2 separate regions of the Homo sapiens genome follow, and region 1 is linked to region 2. Evidence: promoter capture Hi-C in human tissues and cell types (Jung and others, 2019). All regions are on one chromosome and are shown on one strand. Each heading gives the region's core, a stretch centred on a gene start or on the middle of the fragment in contact. The rest is flanking DNA. Distances are from core to core; before and after follow the strand shown. Region 1 has its middle 68 kb from the start of UGT2B15. Region 2 holds the start of UGT2B15 (UDP glucuronosyltransferase family 2 member B15).

Region 1 (6,120 bases), core at 2,545-5,044, 69 kb after region 2:
TCAAAATGAAACAAGGGGAGGAGTAAGGATAGCTCAAAAATTCTGAGGCCTTTTATCACTTTGCACAGGGAGAGAAAGGCCAAAAGCCAGACTGGTAAAATACCCTTTTGCTGGCATGTTGGTCTTCTGGGTTCCCTTCTTCTGGGCCCAATCTTTAGCCAACCAGCTTAAGGTTTGGAAAGTTAACTCTTTCCAGTTTGGAAGATGCATCTGAGGGGAATGTCCCAGAATACGGAGACATAATTACCTATCCGTGAAGAGAGAACAGAGGAGAAGAAAGGAAAAAGAAGGCACCTTTTAAAGAAGTCCCAGGGGGTCATGATGCATTCAAAATGGGTACAGACTGAAGGTGAATGGCTACTCACCTAGGAAGAGGGTGGCAGGTGTCCCTAGTTCTCTTCTCTTTCTAGCAGATACCTGGGGTACATGAGGGAGAAAGAGCATCCTCTTTTCTTCTTCCGTCCTTGCTTCCCCGAGTGCTGGTAACCTTGGTATGTGCTGAAACAGGTGTCAAAGCAACATGCACCCATGAACCAGTGGGGCCTAGGGGGTGAGAACATTCACTCTTACCCACTTACCCACATACACCCTATCTCCCCTGCTTTCAGTAGTCTGGGAGTCCCTAGACCTCATCTATGCCATGGATACTAACAAGGCTTTTATCCATGAACCAGGGAGCTTGGGCTTCACTTAATTGGCAGGAAACAGCCACACTCACCTGCACTGTGCATTTTGTTGCACAAAGTAGGGGCTTATCCTGCCTTAGGGACTGACTCTTTTTCAGGTTTGATATCTGCATGTTTTCCTTGGCCTGGCTCTTATAAAACCCCACCCAGGAACTGGGTTTTCTCCTGCCTGTCTGCGTGTGTGTTATGTGTAATGTCTGCAGAAAGAGCTCTAAATGATTTTGGCCTGAAAAAGACAAACACTTGCATCTAATATTTTTTAAAGAGAAGTTAAAAACTGTGGTACCGTTCAGTTCACGTGACTTTAATCTTTGAGAAATAGGAAGAGGCTTAAAGATTAATGGTAAAAAGCAGATGTCATTACAGTGTAAATAGGTGGACTAAATAACGCAATGGTGTCTTTGTCCATCTCAGGGCCATGAAAATTTAGGCTGGCAGATGGTTCAACAGGTGAGTAAAGCAGGGTTTTATTGGGTGAAAAGGAAAAAAAAAGGGGAAACAGGGATCTTCCACAAGGCTGGAGACCCCTGCCAGAGTGCTTCCCACTAGCAGCTTGAATCCCAGGTTCCACATGGGATATTTGCCGGGCTCCTCCCTGTTGCAAACAGTGCAAAATTCCTGAGGTTCCACCCCAGTGCACATTCCTCCCAGTGCACAGGCTTGTTGGAGATTCTCTGGGGACCTCCTTCTCCTCTGACTAGCTCAGTGGTCAATTCTATGTTTTGTTTGCCTGGTAAATACTTCATCTCTCATTTATATTTGATTGATAATTATTTTTGTTTCAATATTTTTTGGTGGCATCCTTTTGTGTTGAGCACTTTGAAAACATCATTCCAGTCCTTCCTGGTCTGTATAGTTTCTTTTGGGAAGTCTATCTCCATAAATATTGGCGCTGTTTTATATGTTATTTGCTTTCACTTGCTGATTTCAATCTTTTTTCTTTAATGTATTTTTTTTTGTCCTTTGTGACTTTGATTATTTTGTTAATTGGGGTAGTCTTATTTGGGTTTGCATTGTGTTCTAAGACCTTTCTGTACCTGGACATTTTATGTTTCTCAAGTTTTGAAAAGTTTTTTGTTACTATTTTTTTGAATGAGCGTTCTACCCTTGCTCTTACTCACATCTCTCTTGAACACCAATAATTCTTAGACTGGGTCTTTTGAAGTAATTTTCTATATTTTGTAGGTGGCACTTGCTTTTTTATTCTCTCTTGACTTTTTAAAAATAAAATAACGAGTCTTAGAGCTCACAGATTCTTTTCTGGGCTTGGATCATTCTGTGGTTTAAGACCTCTAATGGATTTTGAATTCAGCAAATGCATTTCTTAGTTCCAAGATTTCTGATTGATTTCTTTGTATTATTTTAACCTTTTTGTTAAATTTCTCGGATAAATTTCTGAAATAACTTCCTGTGTTAACTTAGACATTACTAAGTTTTCTTAAAACTGCTATTTTGTATTCTGGGTCAGAGAGCTCAGAAATTGGGTTATCTTATTAGTGTCAATCACTAGATTTTTGCATTGTCCTTTTGGAGAGGTCCTGGTTCCCTGTTCTCTGTTGTTTCTTGTGAATATATGCATGCCTTTGCATTGAAGGATTATTTGTTCCATTTTTTTTCTGTCTTTTTTTAATGGAATATATTTGCTTAGAAAATCTTTACCGAAAAGTCACTGCATTCACTTTAGTTCTAGGTGACATGTTAAGCCCAGGTTTACCTCAGCTCATGTGAATGATTAGAGCTCTGCCTGTCCCAAGTGATGGGGGTTCCAAATGGATTATCCTGGAAGTGTGAGAACACTGCCTAAGGGCTTGTTCCCAGTATACCTAAAGAACTTACATCCTACAGCATGCTGTTGCTAAGCAACTACTCTGATTTGAGGTCAATTTTTGGCTGAGTTACGGAGAAGAGTTTCCATGTCTAAGAGGTTGGTAGTCCTGCCTCTCTTTTTTGTCTCTGCCTGTCCTCAGGAATGTTTCTCCCTTCATGCACTCATAACATTTCCACTGGGTTAAGGAAAGACAGGTCTACCAGGGAACTTGATAAGATGGGGAAGCTTAGTGACCATATCAGTTTGTCTTTCTCTCATTTATATAAAAATTACTTGACATTGAGTAATTTATAAAGTAAAGAGGCTTAATTGCCTCACATTCTGTATGCTATACAGGAAGCATAGTGGCTTCTACCTCTCAGGAGGCCTCAGGAAGCTTGCAATCATAGTGGAAGGCAAAAGGGCAGTCAACACCTCATATGGCCAGAGCAAGAGGAAGGGAGTTGTAGGAGGTGCTACACACTTTTAAACAAACAGATCTCTTGAGAATGCTGTTACAAGAACAGCACCAAAGGGATAGTGCTGAATCATTCATGAAAGATCCACCTGATGATCCAATCACCTCCCAGAAAACCCATCTCCAACACTGGTGATTACAACTGAAAATGAGATTTGGGTGGGGACACAGATCCAAATCATATTGTAAATCATGAATTGGAGATAGATATTCTGCGTTTTTGGTGCAGAGCAGAGTTGCAAGTTAGGGGCATTATTAATGTAGACATAGACATATAATTCCCCTACGTAGTGTCTACTCAGACTTTTTCTACTTTTATGACACTGGGAAATGTGTTATCCTCTTAATTAAGCTTTTGGTTGTTGTGGTGTAGATCTCAGTGCCATATGTTTGTTTTGTTTTGTTTTGCATGAAGAAAAAAAGGCTGCTTGTCTCTACTCTGCCATTTTGGAACCAGAAGTCTCTTGCTCCGTATATTCTTAATAAACGTTTCTTATCAGATATATGAATTAGAACTTTTTAAATTCTACTTATCATCAGTACACTTTTTTGATGGTGTCCTTTCAAGAACAAACATATTCATTTATAAGAATATCAGTTTATCCATTTTAACTTAGTTTTTTGTGACTTTGTTGCCTTGTCCTAGAAACCATTGCCAAATTGAAGATAGAAAAGATTTACTTTTTCTATTCTGGGTTTTGTACTTCTGTTTGTTAACTTTGGGTTGTTGATGTATTTTAAATTAGTTCTTTATGTGTTGTCAGAGAAAGTGTATCTTGTTTTTTTGGCCTTTGGATAATCAGTCTCCCAGAAGTATTTGTGGAAAATATTGTTGTTTTCCTATTCAATAGTTTGACGTCTTTCTCAAAAATTAAGTCACCACTGTGTAAAAGGATTTCTGGATTCTAAAATCTGTTCCATTTATTTATATGGTGATCTGTGTTCCTGTGTCACACTCTTATAACTATTGATGATATGTTGTTGGTTGAAAATCGGAAATGCAAGGACTAAATTATTTTTCAAAATATTACTGGTTATTGAGATTGTGCCACTGCACTCCAGCCTGGCCACAGAGCAAGACTCTGTCTCAAAAAAATTATACATATATATATATATATATATATATATATATATATATTGTGTGTGTGTATATATATATAGTGTGTATATATATAGTGTGTATATATATAGTATATATACACACACACACGTATGTGTATGTGTGTATATATATATATATATCTCGCTATTTTTTGGTCTCCTGTATATCTATATTAATTTAGAATGAGCATGTTTATTTCTGTAAAGAACCCAGCTGGGAATTTAATATGGATTTTGGTTAATTTGTTTATTAATTAAGATTTTCAATTGAGGAATATGAGATTTTATTTATTCATTAAGAATTTTATTCCTCAATATTTAGTAACTTTTACAATTTAAGTTTTAAGTTTCGCAATTTATTTTATTTTTTTGAGATGGAGTCTCATTCTGTCACCCAGGTTGGAGTATAATGGTGCCATCTCAGCTCACTACAACCTCCACCTCCCAGGTTCAAGTGATTCTCCTGCTTCAGCCTCCCAAGTAGCTGGGATTACAGGCTCACGCCACCACGCCTGGCTAATTTTTTATATCTTTAGTAGAGCTGGGGCTTCACCATGTTGGCCAGGCTGGTCTCGAACTTCTGACCTCATGGTCTGCCCGCCTCGGCCTCCCAAAGTGCTGGGACTACAGGCATGAGCCACTGCACCTGGCCTAAGTTTTGCAATTCTTTTAATGTTTTTCCTGTTTTTTTAAAATAATTTTTGATTATATTTTATGTAGGATTTTTGAACATGTTATTTTCTTCTGTATTGTTCAATTATGTAACAATACAATTAATATTTGAAGGTTGACCGTTAGTCCTAAAAATGTGCTTATTTTGTTGTTGATCTAATATTTTCTAGGAAAGTCTAAGATATTCTTTACATAAGGTCATGCCTTTTGTCAACAAAGAGAGTGTACTTATTTCTTACCTTCTAATAAGGATTATTTTTGTTTTGTGTTACTTCCTATTTGCTTTGGCTGGAATCTCCAATATAATGTTGAATAGAAGTAATAAGAATGAATGTCTAGTCTTTTCCTTATTTTAGAAAAAAATGAGTTAATCTTCATAATAGGTGTCTCCAGACAAAAAGAGCCATGTATGAATACACACACATTAGTACACACCTATGAGGGAGGATTTTATTGTAGGAATTTGCTTAGGCTGAGAAATATTATGATATACACTTACACACTTTATATTTAGGAAAGCTGATGCTGTAATTCAATCTGAGACTGAAGGCCTTAGAACTAGGAGAAATAGTTGTGTAATTATTTGTCTGAGGATGATGGCCTTAGAACTTAAGGAGCTACAAGTGGGGTTTACTAGTGCAAACCCTAGTGTCCAATGGCCCAATATCCAGAAGCCTCAAATAAAGAAGGCAGAATAATATTAATGTCCCAGCCAAAGAAAAGAGAAATATTTGTCTTCTTCTGCCTTTTGCTCTATTTGGGTTCTTAACGGATTGGATGATACCTGCCCACAATCATGAGAGATATCTTTAGTCAGTCTACTGATTTAAATACTAATCTCTTTTTAAAGTATTGTAACGTTTGTCACAGAATCATAAAAATATCTATCCTAAAATTCATACAAACCCCAAAATAGCCAAATAAATCATAAACTAAAAGAAGAAAGCCAGAGGCATCAAATTACCTAATTTCAAAGGATATTAAAAGCCTGTAGTAACTAAAACAGCATGGTAGTAGTACAAAAACAGAGACATAGAGCAATGGAACAGAATAGAGAACCAAATAATAAAGCCACACACCTACTGCCACCTGATTTTTAATGAAGTCAGGAATAACAAGCAATGAAGAAAGAACCCTCTATTCAATAAATGATGCTGTGATAATTGTATAGTCATATGCAGAAGACTGAAATTTGACCTCTTCCTTTCACCACATACAGATATCAACTCAAGGTGTATTAAATACTTAAATGTAAAATCTAAGACTATATAAATATGAGAAGAAAACCTCAGAAATACCATCCTGGATACAAGCCCTGGCCAAAGTTTTATGACAATTACCCCAAAAGGAAATTGTAACAAAAAAAAAATTGACAA
Region 2 (7,013 bases), core at 4,352-6,851:
ATAGACAGATCAGCACTGATCTCATTCTGTGATGTCTTTATGAAAGTAATGGTAATAGAAGATCAATGTAAGTAGTTTTATAAAAGTATGAAAATTTAGAAAAAGAAAATCATTTACCCATATCTCTATCTCAATTTAAAATGTGTGCCATTTCATTATGGGTTTAATTCTATTTATATAACTCAATGTACATATGTGATGTTTATTTAGAAAATTTTATTCTCATTGTATATGCCTTTTTATTCTACAAAAAAACTGTGATCTTGTTCTACTCATCATTTTGTTCCTTAGTTTCCAACTATACCTGTACCACGGCTGACAGTGTAATTAAACATTGTTTTGAAAAAAGGATTGTAATGGCTTGGTATGCACATTATGTAAGTTTTTAACCATTTCTTAATGTAAGATATTTGAATTATTTCCAGAGTTTTTTTAATGAGTATTTGCTACCGATATTGAATCTTACCATCATGATTTATTCTCTGTACAGTTTCATGTGAGTATATTATAAAGGCAATGCCTATATGCATTTTTCAAACACTTGATACTTTTTGGCAAGAGTCTTATTCTTTTGAAATATACAAACATTATCTGAGAATCTAATACATAATGGAAAAGCAAGCAAATTTGTCGCAACAATTATTTTGTGTACAAAAGAATTAGAGAATCAGTTTCACAATTATTTACTTGGATTCAAGTCTACCTTCTGCAAGTTAACAACAACGGAGGCTCACACTTGTAATCCCAGCACTTTGGGAGGCTGAGGCATGTGGATCACCTGAGGTCAGGAGTTCAAGACCAGCCTGGCCAACATGGTGAAACTCTGTCTCTACTAAAAACACAAAGATTAGTCAGATGTGTTGGCAGGTGCCTGTAATCCCAGCTACTCGGGAGGCTGAGGCAGGAGAATCAGATCGCTTGAACCTGGGGGGTGGAGGTTTCAGTGAGCCGAGATCATGCTAGTATCAGTAATAATCACTATTGTACTACTAGTCATTTATCCCTTGTCCTTATTCTGCTACTCTCTTCCCCCTGCTACTGGCACTATCACTTTCTTTTAATGTGAGTGAGGAATTTTTTTTTGAGAATAAGATAAGAGTACACAGAATTACCTTTTAAGCTAGAATATTAATGAAGAGCCTCCACCTTTACAATACAACTTTAGCTTTCCAGCTTGTTCAACTGACTGCCCAAACTTAAACATTTACATTTAAACAAGTACACAGAGTATCTGTTCTCTAGGACTTTGCTAGAGAATATAATCTTGATGTGTTGGAAAATCAATCACTATTAAATGAAGACTGATATCTTAAATGGCTGGCACATGTTAGCTAATTTAAAGTATTAAAAATAATGACTGAAATAATCATAATATCAACAATATTTTTGGATCACTGGCTGTGTGTCAGAGACAACTTAAGTGTTTTATCTGTGGTAACTACTTTTTTTCCACACAGCACAATATGAAGTTGTGATTATTATTATAAAAGTAGTCATGATTGCTTAAACTCATGTAAAAGTTCCTAAATGATCTTTACATTTTACAAACTTGCCTTTTTGCAATATTATACATTGGGAATATTGGGATTTTTTAAAAGGAAATCTGATCATATCTCTTCATTTCTTAACTCTTTTCACTCTTTTCAGTAGCTCTCCATTGTCCCTATGGGTATATCAAATTACATATATATATATATATATATTTTTTTTTTTTGAGACAGATTCTCACTCTGTTGCCCAGGCTGGAGTGCAATAGCGTGATCTCGGCTCTCTGCAACCTCTGCCTCCGGGGTTCAAGTGATTCTCCTGCCTCAGCTTCCCAAGTAGCTGCTATTACAGTCACCTGCCAACATGCCTGGCTAACTTTTGTATTTTTAGTAGAGACGGGGTTTCACCATGCTGGCCACTCTGGTCTCCAACTCCTGACCTCAGGTGATCCACCTGCCTTGGCCTCCCAAAGTGCTGGGATTACAGGTGTAAGCCACCACGCCCGGCCCATCATTGACTTTTACTCAACCTTTTCCTGTAAATTAAATTTGGAGTTCCTGGGAACTGCCCTTATTGCTTTTCTACTTTTCTGCCTTAATGCAAGCCTTTACTTTTTTTTTTTTTGTTTATTTGTTTGTTTTTGAGACAGAGTCTCGCTCTGTCGCACAGGCTAGAGTTCAGTGGTGTGGTCTCAGCTCACTGCAGCCTCTGCTCCCAGACTCAAGCAAGCCTCCTGCCTCAGCCTCTTAAGTAGCTACGACTATGAGACTACAGGCACACACCAGCATGCCTGGCTATTATTTTATTTTTTATTTTTGTTAGAGATGAGGTTTTACCACGTTTCCCAGGCTGGTCTCAAACTCCTGAGCCCAAGCAATCATGCCTTCTCTGCCTCCCAAAGTGCAGGGATTATAGGTGTGAGCCACCTTGCCTGGCCTCTGGTTTTCTTTTTGGGTGTTTATCAACCCCTCATCGTTTCACCTATCTCTGCACATTATTGAGTACTCACTTTAATTGTCAATGAGTTTGGGATCTCTTCTGCATATTTCTTTATCATTGTGGTCTTTCCTTATAACACTTTTTAGACTTTTCTTTTTCACTTGTTTTTATTCTATCTTTCAAAGTACAATGTAAGGCATGAGGGAGCAGAAACTGTGCTACCTTTATTCTCTGAAAATCCAGCACTTACCTGTGGTTTGTATTAATCACTCTACAAATATTTTTTGAAGAAATGAATCATACTATCTTTTGGGTGGCACAATGAAGGCCTTACTTTAACCAACCCTGTTTTCAAAATCTCCCTAGTAAACCTCTTTGGTCTTTAATGATAATAACATTCACATACTTGTGATACTACAGAAATATATGATTTTCTAATGGCAAGTCCTTGTTTTTGACCTCCCATATTCCCCTCACTCTGAGTTAAACACTCTGAAAGAAACATATCCAGCCATTCCTTCTGAAAATGTCAAGCAAACAAATGAAACAAGAATACATTTACCTTAGGCAGGGGTTTGGCTGGTTTACAGTGAAGTCCTCCAACAAAATCAACATTTGGTAAGAATGGGCGAGGAAATTCAAAATCCCAATAGGTTCGAATGAGCCACATTTCAGCTTTCCCCATTGTCTCAAATAATGTAGTGGGTCTTCCTGATGGAAAAAAACAAAACAAAACAAAAGGTAGCTAACACGAGAATTGTTATTTGAATATGCAGGTATTTTCCTGAAAGGACTTGGAATAACATACCCAAACATATATAAAATGTCTGTGCATTGATAAAATATATATAAATACATTTATATATAGTCATAATTTAGATTTTATTTATTGCATATGTTGCTCATATGTATATATAAGGAAGGCAATGTATTCAGAGATCTGTAAGAAGAAATCACATCTTTAATGTAACATCAGTATATTCACAATCATAAATAATTATTAAAATAAGTCACTAATATGGTTTGACTGTCCCCACCCAAATCTCCTCTCATCTTGAATTATAATCCCCATAATCCCCATGTGTCCAGGGAGGGACCCAGTGGCAGGTGATTGGATCATGGTGTGGATTCCTCCATGCTGTTCTCATGATATTGAGTGAGCTCTCATGAGATCTGATAGTTTTATAAGTGTCTAGTATTTCCCCTGCTTGCACTTCTCTCTCCTGCCACTAAGTGAGAAGATCCAAGCTTGCTTCCCCTTAGCCTTTCACCATGATTCTAAGTTTCTTGAGGCATCCCAGTCATGTAGAACTGAGTCTATTAAACTTCTTTTCTTTATAAATTACCCAGTCTCAGGTATTTCTTTACAGCAGTGTGAGAATGGACTAATGTAGCCACTATGAACTTAAATACACATTTGTCTTCCCTCTGAAGCTGCAATAGTAACAAATATACCTTTAAACAACTCTTTCAGTTCCACAATTAATTCATCTTACCTTACCCATGAAAACAGCTTTCCAGGAAGTACTCTAGTGTCTACAGTTTATTAAGCTAGTCCCTTGATCCTTGGTTCTCAAAGTAAACCATGAGTTTTTTGAGCTCAACACTGAAATCTTTACACCTACTACTGTCTTGGTTCATCTTAAGATCTTAATATAATTAGATTTTTAAAATAAATATATTTACAAATGAGAATTAAAACATTTTCAGAATTTATTGACATAGAGATATGTGCTCTCCCTTAATTTGGCCCCTATTTTCTTTGATGGAGAGATGCAGTTTAATAAAATATAGATTAAAACTTAGATGTTCACTTTCAACAAGATTTCAGTTTTTGAAAGAAATAATTGTCAACCTGTTATTGAAGGAATGTATAAACATTAGAAATCTCAAGTTTTAGGCTTCTGTTTCTGGAGTAGAGCCACTATATTACTCAACTGTGAAGGAATCCTTCTTACATGAAAAACAAAATTTAATTTCTAAATGAGGAAACTGAGGAACTCAAAGAGAAACAAATTCCTCAATCCTGCATTGATAATTTTTCTAGAAATATGTGTAAATACTAAATTTATGTGTCTGCCTTCATGAAGATGTTTCTTGAGGTATCTATTGACTTTTTTTAAAGATGAAAAAATGTATAGCAAAATGATATGTGATAGTTTAAAGAAATCATTAGTGCTTTACAATGAAGGTTTATGACTCTCTGGGTGTCCTGTAGTAGTGATGGCCCCAGGGTTCTAACTGATTCTATAAGGTCAACATTCTATAATATTTTTGAGACTGATAGATCATCTTACATTTGCAATTCATAATTTCCCTTAAAAACACTATCTTCTGACATTATATTTATATAAGCTCACCTTCAAAGGCACAGAAAAGTTAGAACTTAATAAGCACCAGTTAGACACATGACTTACCTAGAACTTCACTATAAAACTGGTCCCACTTCTTCAGATCATAAATTTGAAACCAAAAGTCAAAATAAAGCATATGTATCATATTTTTTATCCTCTCCATGAAAATCATTTGATCACTTAATTCTGACATAACAACAGGTACATAGGAAGGAGGGAACAGAAATCCTCCACCATTCTTCTCAAATGTGTAGCCAACAGAGAATCGAAGACTGTACAGAAAGGGTATGTTAAATAGTTCAGCCAGTAGCTCACCACAGGGATTAAGGGCATCTGCCAGAATGACATCAAACTTTGACTCTTGTAGTTTCATCATAAGTTTCTTATTCAAAACTGCATCTTTACAGAGCTTGTTACTGTAGTCATAATATTCCCAACACAATTCTTGTAATTGTGAAAAATATGACCAAAATGTATTTTTTGAAACACCATATATCCATCTATCGAGAATTTTCAGAAGAGAATCTTCCAAATAATTTTTAGTTAAAGATGTAGGATAAACTTCTAATTTAATAGCAGATGATTTACTGGCATTGACAAGAGTAGAAGCCGAAGATGTCAACACAGTCACCTCATGACCCCTCTGAACAAGCTCTTCCAGGATTGTCTTCATATTTATCCAATGGCTGTATTCTGTGGGCCACACTAGCACCTTTCCACAGCTTCCAGAGCTAAAGTAACAACTGAGCTGTATCAGCAGAAAGACTGACGTCCATTTCAGAGACATCCTGGTCTTATGCAATGCTTCTTTTCCAGTTGTTGTTTCTTTCTGTCATTTCTCATACTTATATCTGAGGAAAAATCAATCAAGTTAAAATATAACTGCTAAAATTTGAAGTAAATACATAATACTAACAGTCTGAATAGGTGCATGCCAAGGAGACCAACAAAAGATTGATGACCTCATATTTATTTTAGTGTGTTTGGTGTTCTTTTATGTTTACAATTACTCTAGTCAAGCAATAATTTTTATGACCTAGAATATGTAAGTAACCTGTCTTATGTAATTATTTTATAATACTGTTAAGAACAGTGGCAAGTGAGAGGCTCCTGCCTGTTCGGTGCCCTTGACATAGAGAGAAGAAGTAATTATACAACTCAAACGGCATTTTTTAATATCGTGGTGCAAGTAATGTCTTCTAAAACTTTGTTGACACATAATTCATATACCATATGACTCACCAATTAGTGTGTACAGTTCAATGTTTCCTAGTATATTCACAGAATTTTACATCCACTACAATAATCAGTATTATCTCCAAAAGATTCTATACAATAGCCTCTAACCCCCCACTCTGAAATTTTGCATCCATCCTACCCTAGGCAACCACTAATCTAATTTCTATCTCTATAGATTAGCATTTTCTGGACCCTTTAAAAAATAAATGAGGGTTTTCCAGTGATCATGGCAGATGGGATGCAGGACTAGATTGCAGCTCCAGACAGAGCAGCATGCAGAGGCTTGCATTGTGAATTTTAGCTGCAGATCAACTGCAAGAACAGACCAGCAATTCTGAGAGGATCCACACACCCTCTGCAGGAAGAGTACTGCTCCTGCAGGACCTGGGAGACATCCCAAACACTGTGAGTGCCCCAACAATGGAAGTGGGAAAGGGTGATCCCCCTCTCCAGAATACACATCCCCACTGGAGAAGCTGAAGTTCTGTTTGCAGGAGAAGTTCCTGACTTTATGTGAAGCTGAGTCAAATTAGAGAACCAAGCCAAGCAAAATACAGGGGTAGAGGAAGTAGCAGAAAGGCACTGGGAGCTCTCTGGATACCCAAGCGGCTCATTCCTGCCTGGCATCACAGGGATCTATCAGGAGGGTGGCCAGTGATGCAGGGGGTTCAAAGATTCTCCTCAGGACCTGAAGGCTTGAAGGGATGAGTAACTCCTCCCTTCTCAGGCCCAGCCCCAAGATGCAAGACCACTTGCATCAGCAGCGTGTGTCAGCAAGATAGCAGAAGCAGGAAGAGAGCCGGCCAGAAGACACTTACCCTGGCTGGAAGAGATGTACCCCTGAAGATCAAGAAATAGGCCATCCAGGTACTACATAGCAGTCACAACAGACTGGGACACTTACTGTTTACAGAGGACTACAAAACCCCTGTCCCATCCTCACTTGGGGCTGATGCCATTTTAGGCCTCAGCCCACCTGCAACCAGGCGTTCA

The links. Contacts are between HindIII fragments. The study calls those that stand out against the background at their distance.
Region 1: a fragment that was not itself captured here is called in contact with the fragment with the promoter of UGT2B15 in region 2 in 4 of the 25 tissues and cell types used here (adrenal gland, dorsolateral prefrontal cortex, heart left ventricle and 1 more).

What each region holds. Positions count from the first base shown.
Region 1 is chr4:68,735,711-68,741,830 of GRCh38, forward strand. No RefSeq gene overlaps it. Among named protein-coding and RNA genes, the nearest start is that of UGT2B15, 68 kb to the left of the region's middle. The HindIII fragment of the contact is 5,251 bases long and covers 1,170-6,120 here.
Region 2 is chr4:68,665,051-68,672,063 of GRCh38, forward strand. UGT2B15 (UDP glucuronosyltransferase family 2 member B15) reads right to left here and starts at 5,602. Exons shown (of 6, transcript NM_001076.4): 1 at 4,845-5,602; 2 at 2,990-3,138. The coding sequence starts at 5,568. The HindIII fragment of the contact is 11,998 bases long and covers 1-7,013 here.